Linked DNA regions of Homo sapiens: all the other regions are linked to region 4. Evidence: promoter capture Hi-C in human tissues and cell types (Jung and others, 2019). All regions are on one chromosome and are shown on one strand. The core of a region is centred on a gene start or on the middle of the fragment in contact, and the rest is flanking DNA. Distances in the headings are between cores, read along the strand shown. Region 1 overlaps PRKX (protein kinase cAMP-dependent X-linked catalytic subunit). Region 2 has its middle 15 kb from the start of SNORA48B. Region 3 holds the start of PRKX (protein kinase cAMP-dependent X-linked catalytic subunit). Region 4 holds the start of ARSD (arylsulfatase D).

The links. Contacts are between HindIII fragments. The study calls those that stand out against the background at their distance.
Region 1: a contact is called between a fragment that was not itself captured here and the fragment with the promoter of ARSD in region 4, in 2 of the 25 tissues and cell types used here (IMR-90 fibroblasts and small bowel).
Region 2: a fragment that was not itself captured here is called in contact with the fragment with the promoter of ARSD in region 4 in 1 of the 25 tissues and cell types used here (mesenchymal stem cells).
Region 3: the fragment with the promoter of PRKX here is called in contact with the fragment with the promoter of ARSD in region 4 in 1 of the 25 tissues and cell types used here (small bowel).

The regions. Positions count from the first base shown.
Region 1 is chrX:3,619,753-3,622,452 of GRCh38, forward strand. PRKX (protein kinase cAMP-dependent X-linked catalytic subunit) reads right to left here. Exons shown (of 9, transcript NM_005044.5): 6 at 1,507-1,564. Among named protein-coding and RNA genes, the nearest start is that of PRKX-AS1, 38 kb to the right of the region's middle. The HindIII fragment of the contact is 4,454 bases long and covers 1-2,700 here.
Region 2 is chrX:3,545,759-3,548,548 of GRCh38, forward strand. No RefSeq gene overlaps it. Among named protein-coding and RNA genes, the nearest start is that of SNORA48B, 15 kb to the left of the region's middle. The HindIII fragment of the contact is 5,478 bases long and covers 1-2,790 here.
Region 3 is chrX:3,712,169-3,715,065 of GRCh38, forward strand. It overlaps PRKX (protein kinase cAMP-dependent X-linked catalytic subunit), which reads right to left and starts at 1,481. Exons shown (of 9, transcript NM_005044.5): 1 at 920-1,481. The coding sequence starts at 1,085. RefSeq lists enhancers at 105-414, 2,746-2,897 and silencers at 585-864, 905-1,034, 1,055-1,784. The HindIII fragment of the contact is 15,008 bases long and covers 1-2,897 here.
Region 4 is chrX:2,928,034-2,930,733 of GRCh38, forward strand. ARSD (arylsulfatase D) reads right to left here and starts at 1,306. Exons shown (of 10, transcript NM_001669.4): 1 at 1,199-1,306. The coding sequence starts at 1,242. RefSeq lists silencers at 794-953, 974-1,323. The HindIII fragment of the contact is 14,341 bases long and covers 1-2,700 here.

The DNA.
Region 1 (2,700 bases), core at 77-2,576, 690 kb after region 4:
CCCCTAGTTTGTGGTCAGTTCTTATGGCAGCTACTGGAGACTCGTAAACCACACAGAGGGCCCCAAGAGAGCCAAGTGGTTCAAGCCTCACACCCCGGTGTACTGTGTCTCTCCAGACTGTAATTTACAGGGTCAAGACGTATATGGAAGTTCCTCCATGTATAAGTCCCTCTGAGGTTGTCCAGAGCTAGAAATGGCCAACAAAAAGTCCATGAATTCTGTCAAATTCAGGGATGTCAAAACACGCATATCAGGTATGATACTACTTAAGGAATAGTCTGTTTGTCAATTATATACTTGCCTCCACACAAAAAGTTTGTGGAAATCATACCTGATGCACAACTTTTAAAATCATCACCTGCGCACACAAAACACCTACTCTCATGTCCATGGCAGAACCATTCACAAAAGCCAAAAGGTGGAAACAGCCCAGATGTCCATCCATAGATGAATGGATAAACAAAACGAGGTCTGCCCACACAATCGAATACTATGCAGTCAGGAAAAGGAAGGAAGCTCTGACACGGGCTACAGCCTGGATGAACCTTGAAGACATCGTGCTCAGAGAAAGAAGCCAGAGGCAAAAGCTTACATTTTGTACAATTCCATTTTTAGCAGAGCCCAGAACACCGAACCCTACAGAGAAAGTCAGTAGATTAGTGGCTGCTTAGGGTAGGGGTCCCCAGCCCCTGGGCCACAAACTGGTAGTGGTCCACGGCCTATGAGGAACCAAAATGGGCCGCACACCAGGAGGTGAGCAGCAGGCAGGTGAGCGAAGCTTCACCTGTACTGACAGCTGCTCCCCATGGCTGGCATTAGCACCTGAGCTCCGCCTCCTGTCAGATCAGCAGTGGCATTAGATTCTCATAGGAGCACACACCCTATTGTGAACTGCGCAACTAAGGGATTTAGGTTGTGCGGTCTGTGGAAAAACTGTCTTCCACAAAACTGGCCCCTGGTGCCAAAAAGGTCGGGGACCGCTGGCTTAGGGCAAGAGAGGATGAAAGAATAGCACAGTGATAACTGAAGGGTGCAGGGTTTCTTTTTTTGAACTGATGAAGATGTTCTAAGATTAACCACAGGGGTGGCTGTACATAATCGTGTGTATACTAAAAGCCACCGAATTGCACATTTTAGATGGGTAAATGGCATGGCGTGTGAATTCACTCTCCGTAAAACTGTTTAAAAAATAAAATAAATAAGTAAACAAAATAATGAGTAATAACTTATGCATTGTTATTGCTCTATTAACCTTGCTTGAGGGGAGGGGAGATACGGTGTAGACCCAGTTTGACGTTGTGGGCCCAGAAACCGAGATTTGATAGATCTTTCCTGGCAGTTTCAAGTAAAATTTAAAAAAATAAATAAAACACCAGATTTGAAATTTGGGCAGTGATTAAATACGACCGCTAAGCCTTGGTTTATACCTGCACATGCCAATGTGGGTGTTAGACGGCAGACACGCACATCGGGTACCACTGAATACCCACGGGATCAAATACTGACCTTCATGTTTCCTAATCGCCTTGTTCTGTCAACCACGAGCAGTTTCTTAATGAGGTCTCTATGTTGGGGAAGGAGACAAAAAAAAAAAAAGTACACAGATTATATATCAACATCAGCAAACGCAGCATGGCAACAGAGATAAGATCTATCTGACATGAGGACCGCAGTTCAATTTCCACTTTGGCAAAACACTTTCTAGTGCTTATTTCCTACCATCACCGGCTCTTAAATCACCTATGCAAGGCTGGGTTGCCCCGTGCAAGGCTGAAGCTAAGGGAAGGGGGTTGATTACATCTTTGTAAAGAAAATACACCTCTGAGTAGAAAAGGGTGAAATTTATATGTGCCTGCAGGGAGGATCCAGACACTTAACGTAAACATGCCTGTCAGGCTGTCCCTGCAAAATAGAAGACATCTGCTTTCACCAACATCAACACTCACGCGCTGTCCTGGGGGTCTGCTTATTGATGGGATTCCTGTTTTAAAAGGCTGGCTTTCCCATAAGCACACACATTAGGATGAGTCTCCTAAGTCTGCTTCTTCACTTATAATCTTCCTTTTAAATAACAGACCATGTCAGAAGTACAGCAGGTGGGGAGGTTGGGCATACTGGCTCACACCAGTAATCCCAGCACTGTGGGGAGGCCGAGGCGGGTGGATCACTTGACGTGAGGAGTTTGAGACCAGCCTGGCCAACATGGTGAAACCCCATCTCTACAAAAAAAAAGAAAAAGAAATTCGCTGGGCATGCTGGCACACAACTGTGGTCCCAGCTACTTGGGAGGCTGAGGCACAAGAACCGCTTGAACCCAGGAGGCGAAGGTTGCAGTGAGCTGAGACTGAGCCACTGCACTCCAGTCTGGGTGACAGAGGTAGAGTCAGTCTCAAAAAAAAACAAAAACAAACAACAACAACGACAACAAAAAACAGCAAGCTGCTTCAATTAGGATGGGTAGTTGGAGATGATGTTGAAGACTTCCAGGAGATTAGGTGAGTTCTAAAAGATGCATATTTATGGAAGTAGAAATGATCATGTGTGTCTGTGTGTACACATAAAATACACAGAGTACATTATGTATAATAACATACATAATATGATATAATAATATAATATATTGAAGTCCCCCAAAACAATCCAATACCCATGACCCCGGTGTAAGCGTCTAGGCTTTCCCAGCATAAACTATGCCCCAAG
Region 2 (2,790 bases), core at 65-2,564, 620 kb after region 4:
TTTATAAGTTGGACAGTGATGTTATTTGTTTTCGAAAAGCAGTGACACTGATGGCCTTAGAGGCTAGGTACCTTAGAAAGGATATATTTTCATGTGCATAGAAAGATTCCTCCCTCCCTCCCTTCCTTCCTTCACTAAAAGCCATCCTTAGCTCAAGGAGAGGGAGTGCTTCCTTGCTAACAGCCTTGCAAGACACGGGATTCTCCAGGCAGGACGAGGAGCTGAACATTTCCAGAAACCTGGTCAGATGGTTCTGCATTCTTCTAAAAGATTTGCTGAGACACATCCACTTGCTGCCCTCATGGCAAAAGATCGCATAGATCTTGTTGCCATCTTCTGTGTCTCAGCGAAATAGCCCTGAGCAAAATCGCACATTAAATCTTCTGGTTGCAGAGTTAACTCATCTGTTCTCAAACAACCTGGCTTACAGAAGTGGATGCCAATCCAAAGCATGCCCAGAGGGCACATGGGTATTCTTTAATGAGCCAACTTTCATTACATAAGACACTCAATTGTGATCATTGGTGAATTTATCAAGTTGGCAGGGCATGTTTCCACACAGTCATCCTTTTTATTCTTCAGACATCTTTACTCTTTCATCAGCCCAGAGAAACAAATGTTTAGAGACGATGATATTTTCTCAATGTGTACTGCAGTTTACTATGCAGAACCCCTAACATAGACACCAGCTCTCATGGCCTGAATGCTTTGATTACTGTAGATGATCAATTCAGAGGTATTATTAGATCTCAGAGTGAATTGATTTTTGGTTTTTTTTGGAAGATGGGAAAGGTGGAGTTCACCAAGAGTCACTCTGCTCATTCCAAGACCCTCAACTCTCCATGAAGTTCTTCATTTTTGTCTCAAGTAATTCTTTTAAGTATATGTGCTCACCCAATAAAAATCTCTGTCTTGGTGAAATTGTGGAGGTGTAAAGTCAGACAGAGAGAGAAACTCTTGTTGCCTTCTTTAAAGGATAAACATGCCTTTTTCTGATCAAACTTGAGACCCTCCAAAATTAAACTAGCTGTTAAGTGTGTGACCCCAAAAGGAAAGGAAAAGGTAAAAGGAAGGAAGGAAGGAAGGAAAAGAGGGAGGGAGGGAGGGAAGGAAGGAAGGAAGGAAGGAAGGAAGGAAGGAAGGAAGGAAAAGAGGGAGGCAGGGAGGGAGGGAAGGAAGGAAGGAAGGAAGGTAGGAAGGAAAAGAGGGATGCAGGGAGGGAGGGAAGGAAGGAAGGAAGGAAGGGATCTTTCTATGCACATGAAGATGTATCATTTCTAAGGTACCCAGCCTCTAAGGCCATCATTGTCACTGAAATGTTGTTGTTGCTGTTGTTTGTTTTTGAGAGAGTTTCACTCTGTTGCACAATCACAGCTTCACTGCAGCCTCAAACTCCTGGGCTCAAGCAATCCTTCTACCTCAGCCTCCCAAGTAGCTGGGACCACAGGCGCATGCCACCATGCCCAGCTAATTTAAAAAAAAAAAATTTAGAGATGGGTCTCACTACGTTGCTCAGGCTGGAGATTATTTTTTAAACCAAAAAATATGAGAAATCCTTAGCCCCCTACTTCCATTTGTATTTTGCTTCTATCTAAAAAGTACCCAAGTTGTTTAATTTCACAACCTGAAAGCACTGGAAAGCTTTAGATTGGAAATGCAGGATTTCACTTTATGCGATGGGACTAGACCATCACAAGATCTAGTGGTGACTTGAATTTTGATGCCACAGATAATCCTCTTTGTTCAAAGTGCCCTGTTTAGAAATTCATACATCAGGCAATGCAGCCCTTACAATATGTTTTCATTGTGATATTGAGGAAGAAAAGATACAGGAAGGGAGAAAGGAAAAGATGCAAAAAATGAGGAAAACATTACATACTTTATAAAATATAAGAACCATAGGCTGGGTGTGGTGGCTCACACCTGTACTCTTAGCACTTTGGGAGGCCAAGGCAGGAGGATTGCTTGAGCCCAACAGTTCGAGACCATCCTGGGCAACATAGCAAGACTCTATCTCTAATTTTTTTCATAAAAAATAAAATAAAAAATAAAAAAGAACTATGAAAAGAAGGGTTTTTTTTGCCCTCAGGAAACTTGCAATCTAAATTTTCTTCTAAACCCGGATTTGCTTTAAATGACTTGTCTAAATAAACTTATCTTTCCATGTCATTTTTTATCTTGTTTTTTTAGTTGTTGTTTGCTTACTAAACCTAAGCCTGGGGGCCAGGAGTGGTGGCTCACACCTGTAATCCCAGCACGTTGGGAGGCCAAGGCAGGCGGATCACTTGAGGTCAGGAGTTTGAGACCAGCCTGGGCAACATGGTGAAACCCTGTCTCTACTAAAAATACAAAAATTAGCTGGGTGTGGTGGTGAGTGCCTATAATCCCAGCTACTGGGGAGATTGGGCAGGAGAATCACTTGAACCTGGGAGGCGGAGGTTGCAGTGAGCCGAGCTCGCGCCACTGCACTCCAGCCTGGCAACAAAGTGAGACCCTGTCTCAAAAATAAATAAATGAAGAACCTAAGCCTTGAAGAAATAAATCTTTTAAAATTTCATTATGATTTTACTTTTGCTACCAACAACACCAGCCTTCTCTAAAAATCTAACTTTTGCTTGTCAACACTCAAAAACAACATTGGTGGAAGCCAAATGTACCTCAAAAGATGAATTTCATGCTTTTTTAGAGGAAAAAGCCTCATGAACTGTGCTAGGTATTTTGATGATCAGCTCTTCGCATGGACATCTTGTCATGAATATTTATTCATAGGACATTTTCTTTTCTTTTTTA
Region 3 (2,897 bases), core at 231-2,730, 780 kb after region 4:
GGCCTGAGAGCCGACGCCTCACCAACACACCCAGGACAGCCCCCTCTACTCTCCCATTTATTTTCTTGACAGCCAACACCCCACTTAGCCATACGGAGTCCCTAAGTGGCACAGGCGGGCCGATGACAACTGTTTAAATCCAGCGCCCACGTTCAGTTGGGATATTCTGACCCACTCAGGGCTGCTCCATAAAGCAGCGCGTGTCCGGATGCAAGAGCACCGAGAACTCGAAACCTCTCTGTCAAGCTGCCCATTCGGGGTTAAGTTCAAAGACAGAGGACAAAGGAAACGGATAAAGCGTCCGATACAAGAATTACCCATTTCAGAGGCACAAGACGAAGAGCACAGGCGGTGTCAGGACATGTTAGGATCCGTCCCCAGCGCTGCCGTCCTCGTCCCCACAGCGCCCCGGGACACCTGTCCCCCACAGCCCAGCTGCTCCTGCAGCCCCTGGAGAAATCTGTACATTCCCTGCCTCTGGGCACACAGGGAGGCTGGCCTAGGGGAGGCCTGCAGGGGTCTTCGCACCCCGCGCCAGTGTCCCTGGGGCCGCTGCCAGGGAGGGAGCACGAGGTCCCCCAGGCGAGGTGACCCGCAGGAGGTTTTGTGACGTCGGACGGCCCAGGCCCCAGAGTGCTGTGTGTGCTGGGGGTGGAGGGTGGTCTCCGAGAGGAGCCGTCGGCATTTCAGGTTAGGCACCCGGCCGGTCGGGGGTACTTGCCTGGGCTGGGGGGCTGGGGAGTGCGCTCCACCCGGGAAGACCCGGGGCGCAGGTGCAGCCCCGCACGGGGACTCCGAGCCGAAGTAGCGGGTCAGGGCCCTCCCCAGGAGGTCGGCACCCAGGGCCCTTTGTCCTACTACAACGTCCCGGCCACGCCGCGCGCCCCTGTGGGCCGAGTCCCCGCCCGCACTCACTCACCCACGGTGGCCAGCGTGTCAAAGTCCTGCAGGCTGTACACAGGCGGCTCCGGCGACAGCGCCTCAGGGCTGGGGCAGAGCGCGGGCGCCCCGTCGGGGGTCTCCTCCGCCACCTTGCGGGAGTCGCTCTCCGCCGCGGCCGCCTGGGCCAGCCCGGGCGCCTCCATGGGGACGCACTCAGGTCCGGGGCACCGGGCCAGGCCGGAGCGCTCGGGGAGCCGGGCTTCCCGGGACGCAGCCTCGGAGGGCGGCGCGGCGGCGGCATCAACAGAGGCTCCCCATGCGCGCTCTCGCCTCCTGGTGCGCGGTCCGGCGCGGCTGACGGAGCGACGGGGACAATGGCTGGGCGGCGCTCACGGCACAAGCAGCAACGGCCCCGAGTGGGAGCAGCCGCCGGCCTCGGGGGGCGGGCACCGAGTGCGGGACGACTGCGGGGAAGGCGGGGGCCGCGGCCCGGGCTGGGGGGGGCGAGGCGGGGGCCCTGCGCATTCCGGGTCTCGCGCCCGCCGCCTCCTCCAGCTCGGTAGCCGCGTGCGCGCTGTTGGGGCGGGCGGAAGCCGCCTGGGCGTGACCGCGCCTCTCCCCGCCCTAACCCGGCCGCGGGGCTGGGGGCGTCGCCTTCGCGCGCGCTCCGCCCCCGCCCCGACCCAGCCCAGGAGCCGGAGACCCGGGCGTGCGGCGCTGGGGAGGTGCCCACGCCCCCTCCGCGCCCGGGGCACCCCTGGGGTGGGACCCAGGCTGACTTCTCCTCGGGGACGCACTGGCGGGCCACCCGCGTCGCTGCACCCAAGCCCGGAAGATGGGGAGGCGAGGGGGCCCGGGGACAGGGAGGGCGTAGCTCAGCAGAAGTGAAGTTCAAAACTAAAAAGTGAAACTGGCGTTTGGTGAAGAGAGGGGCTCGGATTAGCCCGGCTAATTTTTGTATTTTCTCAGTAGAGACAGGGTTTCACCATGTTGGCCAGGCTGGTCTGGAACTCCTGAGCACAAGTGAACCGCCTGCCTCGTTCTCCCAAAGTGCTGGGACTACAGGTATAAGCCACCACGCCCAGCCTCTGATTGGCTTTAAGTCATAGAAAATAGGATTGCTCAGCTGGCAATCTGCATACAGATCCCCTCTGCCCTCCCCCCAAAAAGTTCAGTACTCCTGCGGGTGCTTGTTTGGGACCTGAGAGAATTTGGAATGAGGGCGGATCCCCAAGAGGGGCTGCCGGGTCTTCGGGATGAGTTCAGCGTCCTGGTTTTGCTGTAGGACTCTGGTGATTCTAGATTTCTACTTGGAAGGGGCGGGGAAGGGCGGGCTCGACCCTGTGCGTTTCTTTGCAGCTTCCTGTGGATCTAGAATTCTTTACAAATAAACATTCCTTTAAAAAACTAGGGAAAGACAGATTTGAGAGATCGCCCGACCAAATGTAGTGCGTGAAACTTGATTGGTCACTGTTTCAAACACCCCGGCGACAACCCTATAAAGAATTGTGCAGAGGCATTTCAATTTCAGAAACCCCAAAGATTTTTTTTTCCTGGCTTAAGTGTGGCTCAGGCAATAGTTGGACATACTTATATTTAAAACCCATATCCGTGTGGATTTGAAATGCAAATATAGCTAGATATTTGGTCACCCCTTTCCCCAGGGAAATGCAGACAGTGCTTAACTTGCGGGCCTGGCACGGCCTGGACGCTGCGCCCCTGACCCGCGACCAGGGCGGCCCAGGCTGCCGGTTCGCCGACCACAGTTTGAGCAGCAAGGGGTCAAACTGCAAACGCCTTTGTTTTGAGGGATCTCAGCGATTCTGCGATTGGAGGGGGTCTCCAGTCCCTCAGTCCGCAGGTCAGGGGGGCTTTCCGAGAGCCAAAGCGGCCTCTAAGTCAGAACGGACACATTTTTAGGGGGACCAGGCCGAGCCATCCTTCCACAGCTAACGGGGAGGGGGAGTCAGGAAGTCTGAACCTGGCTCAGGCTTTGGATTTCTGGCCCCTGGCTG
Region 4 (2,700 bases), core at 56-2,555:
TCTTTCTTTGCTGGGCGTTTTGTCCAATTCTTTGTTCAAAACGCCAAGAACCTGGACAACTTGCAGTCACGACCCTCTACCGGTGGCACTGGGGCGCAAATGAAGCTGGGAATGCAGGACCCGGCGCATCTGAGGAAGTGCAGCGGGGCATGGCGGTGCTAGAGGGTGGGGACATGGAGGCGGCACAAGGCCAAGGCGCCGGGGGATGGCCAGAGGGAAGTAACGGCCGCGCTTGTGGTGGAGATGGGGACGGGACAGAGAAGTCTTGGGGGGTGACCGGGGTAGGCACGGCGGTGCTGGGGGGAGGGCGCCCAATGAAGCCCACGGGGGGGAAAGGGGCGTGTCTTACCGAGCGTGTTGGGGGAGTCACAGCCGTGCTTGGGAGGATGGGGTCTGGGGGAAGGACGGGGCGCGTCTTAGTGGGATGAGGGGGAGGGCACAGCCGTGCTGGGAAGGCAAAGGGCCGGGGGGCGGGATGGAGCATGTCATGGTGGGGCCGAAGAGGCGGGGGGCGGGAAGGGGCCTTCTTAGAAATCGGGAGGGCGTCACAGCTGTGCTCGGGAGGACGGGGCGTTGGGGAGGGACAGGGAGCGTCTTAGTGGACCCGGGGAACACGGCCGTGCTGGAAGGCATCGAGCTGGGGGGTTGGGGGCGGGACGGGGTGCCTCTTAGGAAGTGGGGCGGGCAAGGCTACGCTTCGGGGGATGGAGCCTTGGGGCGGGACGGGGCGCGTCTTAGTGGGGCAGAGCGGGGGGCGCGGTTCGGGGCGGGTCTTAGGGAGCCTTTGAAGGCCGAATCCGGGCAGCGGTGTAGCTGGGCGTGGAAGGCGGAGGACCCAGCAGGGCGTGACCGGCCCAGTTTCCGCTCCCTCCGGGTCCCGGCCAGCCTTCCTCCGCCCTCCCTTCCCTTCCTCCTTTGTTCTCTTTCCCTGCCCTTCCGCCTTCCCTTCAGTTCGGTCTCCTCCACCCGCCCTTCGTCCCCTCAGTCGCCCCCCATCCCTGGGCTCTGCTGTCTGGCGTCTTTCCCGGGCACAGAACGCGCCTCCAGCTACATTTTGGAGACTACAAGGCGCCGGACACAACCACGCCCTTTACAGGGGCCCAGGCTCGCCCGGGGCGCCCCTCGCCGTGCTCGCGACCCCCTCCCCAGGCCCCCACCCTAGGCCTTAGTATGGGCCGCGTCCCGGGGTCCCAGGCACCTGGCGGCGGGCGCGGCGCGTCCCCTCCGCGCGGCGGATCGCATGGCCGAGCGCTGGCCCAGAGCGCAGGACCTTGCCCTGCGCACTCCGCGCCCGGGCGCCGCTAGTGCCAAGGCTTCCGCCCTCTCAGCTGCGGGATCTGGGCCGGGCGCCCGCCCCTCCTTCATCCGCGTCATCTCCTGGCTCTCGGGACCTCCGGGACCTGCGCGTGGAAACAGGTTTTCCCAGGTCGTCACACGGGAAGGCCTGGGCTAAGGAGCTGATTAAACCCAGTTACGATTGACCGGGCGCGGTGGCTCCCGCCTGGAATCCCAGCAGTTTGGGAGGCCAAGACGAGTGGGTCACCTGAGGTCAGGAGTTCGAGACCAGCCTGGCCAACCTGGTGAAACCCCGTCTCTACTAAAAATACAAAAATTAGCTGGGTGTGGTAGTTCACGTCTGTAGTCCCAGCTATTCGGGAGGCTGAAGCAGGAGAGTTGCTTGAACCCGGGAGGTGGAGGTTGCAGTGAGCTGAGATCGCGCCACTGCAACTCCAGCCTGGGCGACAGAGTGACACTCCGTCTCAAAAAATAAATAAATAAAAATAAAAAATAAACCCAGTTAGGCTTGAGCACAGGGAGCCCCTTTTCTTTTTGTCAGGAAGGGTCTTAGGACCTACCCAGAGCAATCAAGTTGCGATTTCAGTTTCTCAAAGCTTGGTGTTTGAAATGTCTGTTCCGGATGCTGGACTTGTACTCTAAGTCTGGGACGGGGAATGCTAGATGGGCCCTTTTTTTTTGCTTTTATTACTATTATTATTATTATTTTGAGATAGGGACTCACTCTGTCGCCCAGGCTGGAGTGCAGTGGTGCGATCTCGGCTCAGTGCAACCTCCGTCTCCTGGGTTCAAGCGATTCTCCTGCCTCAGCCTCCCGAGTAGCTGGGACTACAGGCGCGTGCCACCACGCCCGGCTAATTCCAATTGCTATTTTTATCTTTGTTTCTTTCATCAGACTGCTGTTGAAATTACTCCTTTTGATTAATCACTGTGCCCTGGACCCCTCCCCATCTTTTCTGTGACTCATCCTTTTGTTTTTGAATGATGCTATTTTGCTCATTACCCTCTCACGTAATGCTTTTTTTGTATCTTTGGCTCTCCCTTTGTTGTTTGTTTGTTTTGTTTTTAACTCTTTTGACCTCTAGAAAGATCAAGGCTGAGAGTTGAGGCTGCAGTGAGCCTTTGTTTTTGTCTAACTCTCTTGACCTCCAGTCGCTGATTCTCTCAAGCCCCTTCATGTCTTACCTCATCCCCTCACATCCCCTCACAATGCAAGATCTGGTCAAAGTATAAATTCATATTTTGTAGGAAATGCTAGCTTACAAAACAATATCACATCCCTACCTCCAGCCCAGGTGACCCACTTTCCCTCAAAGGGGGTTGCTTAGGTCCTCTTCCACTGGTCAGGGACAAAATGATTCCATAGTCTTCAAGATTAACAGTACTTTCTTTTTCCAAGGCTGA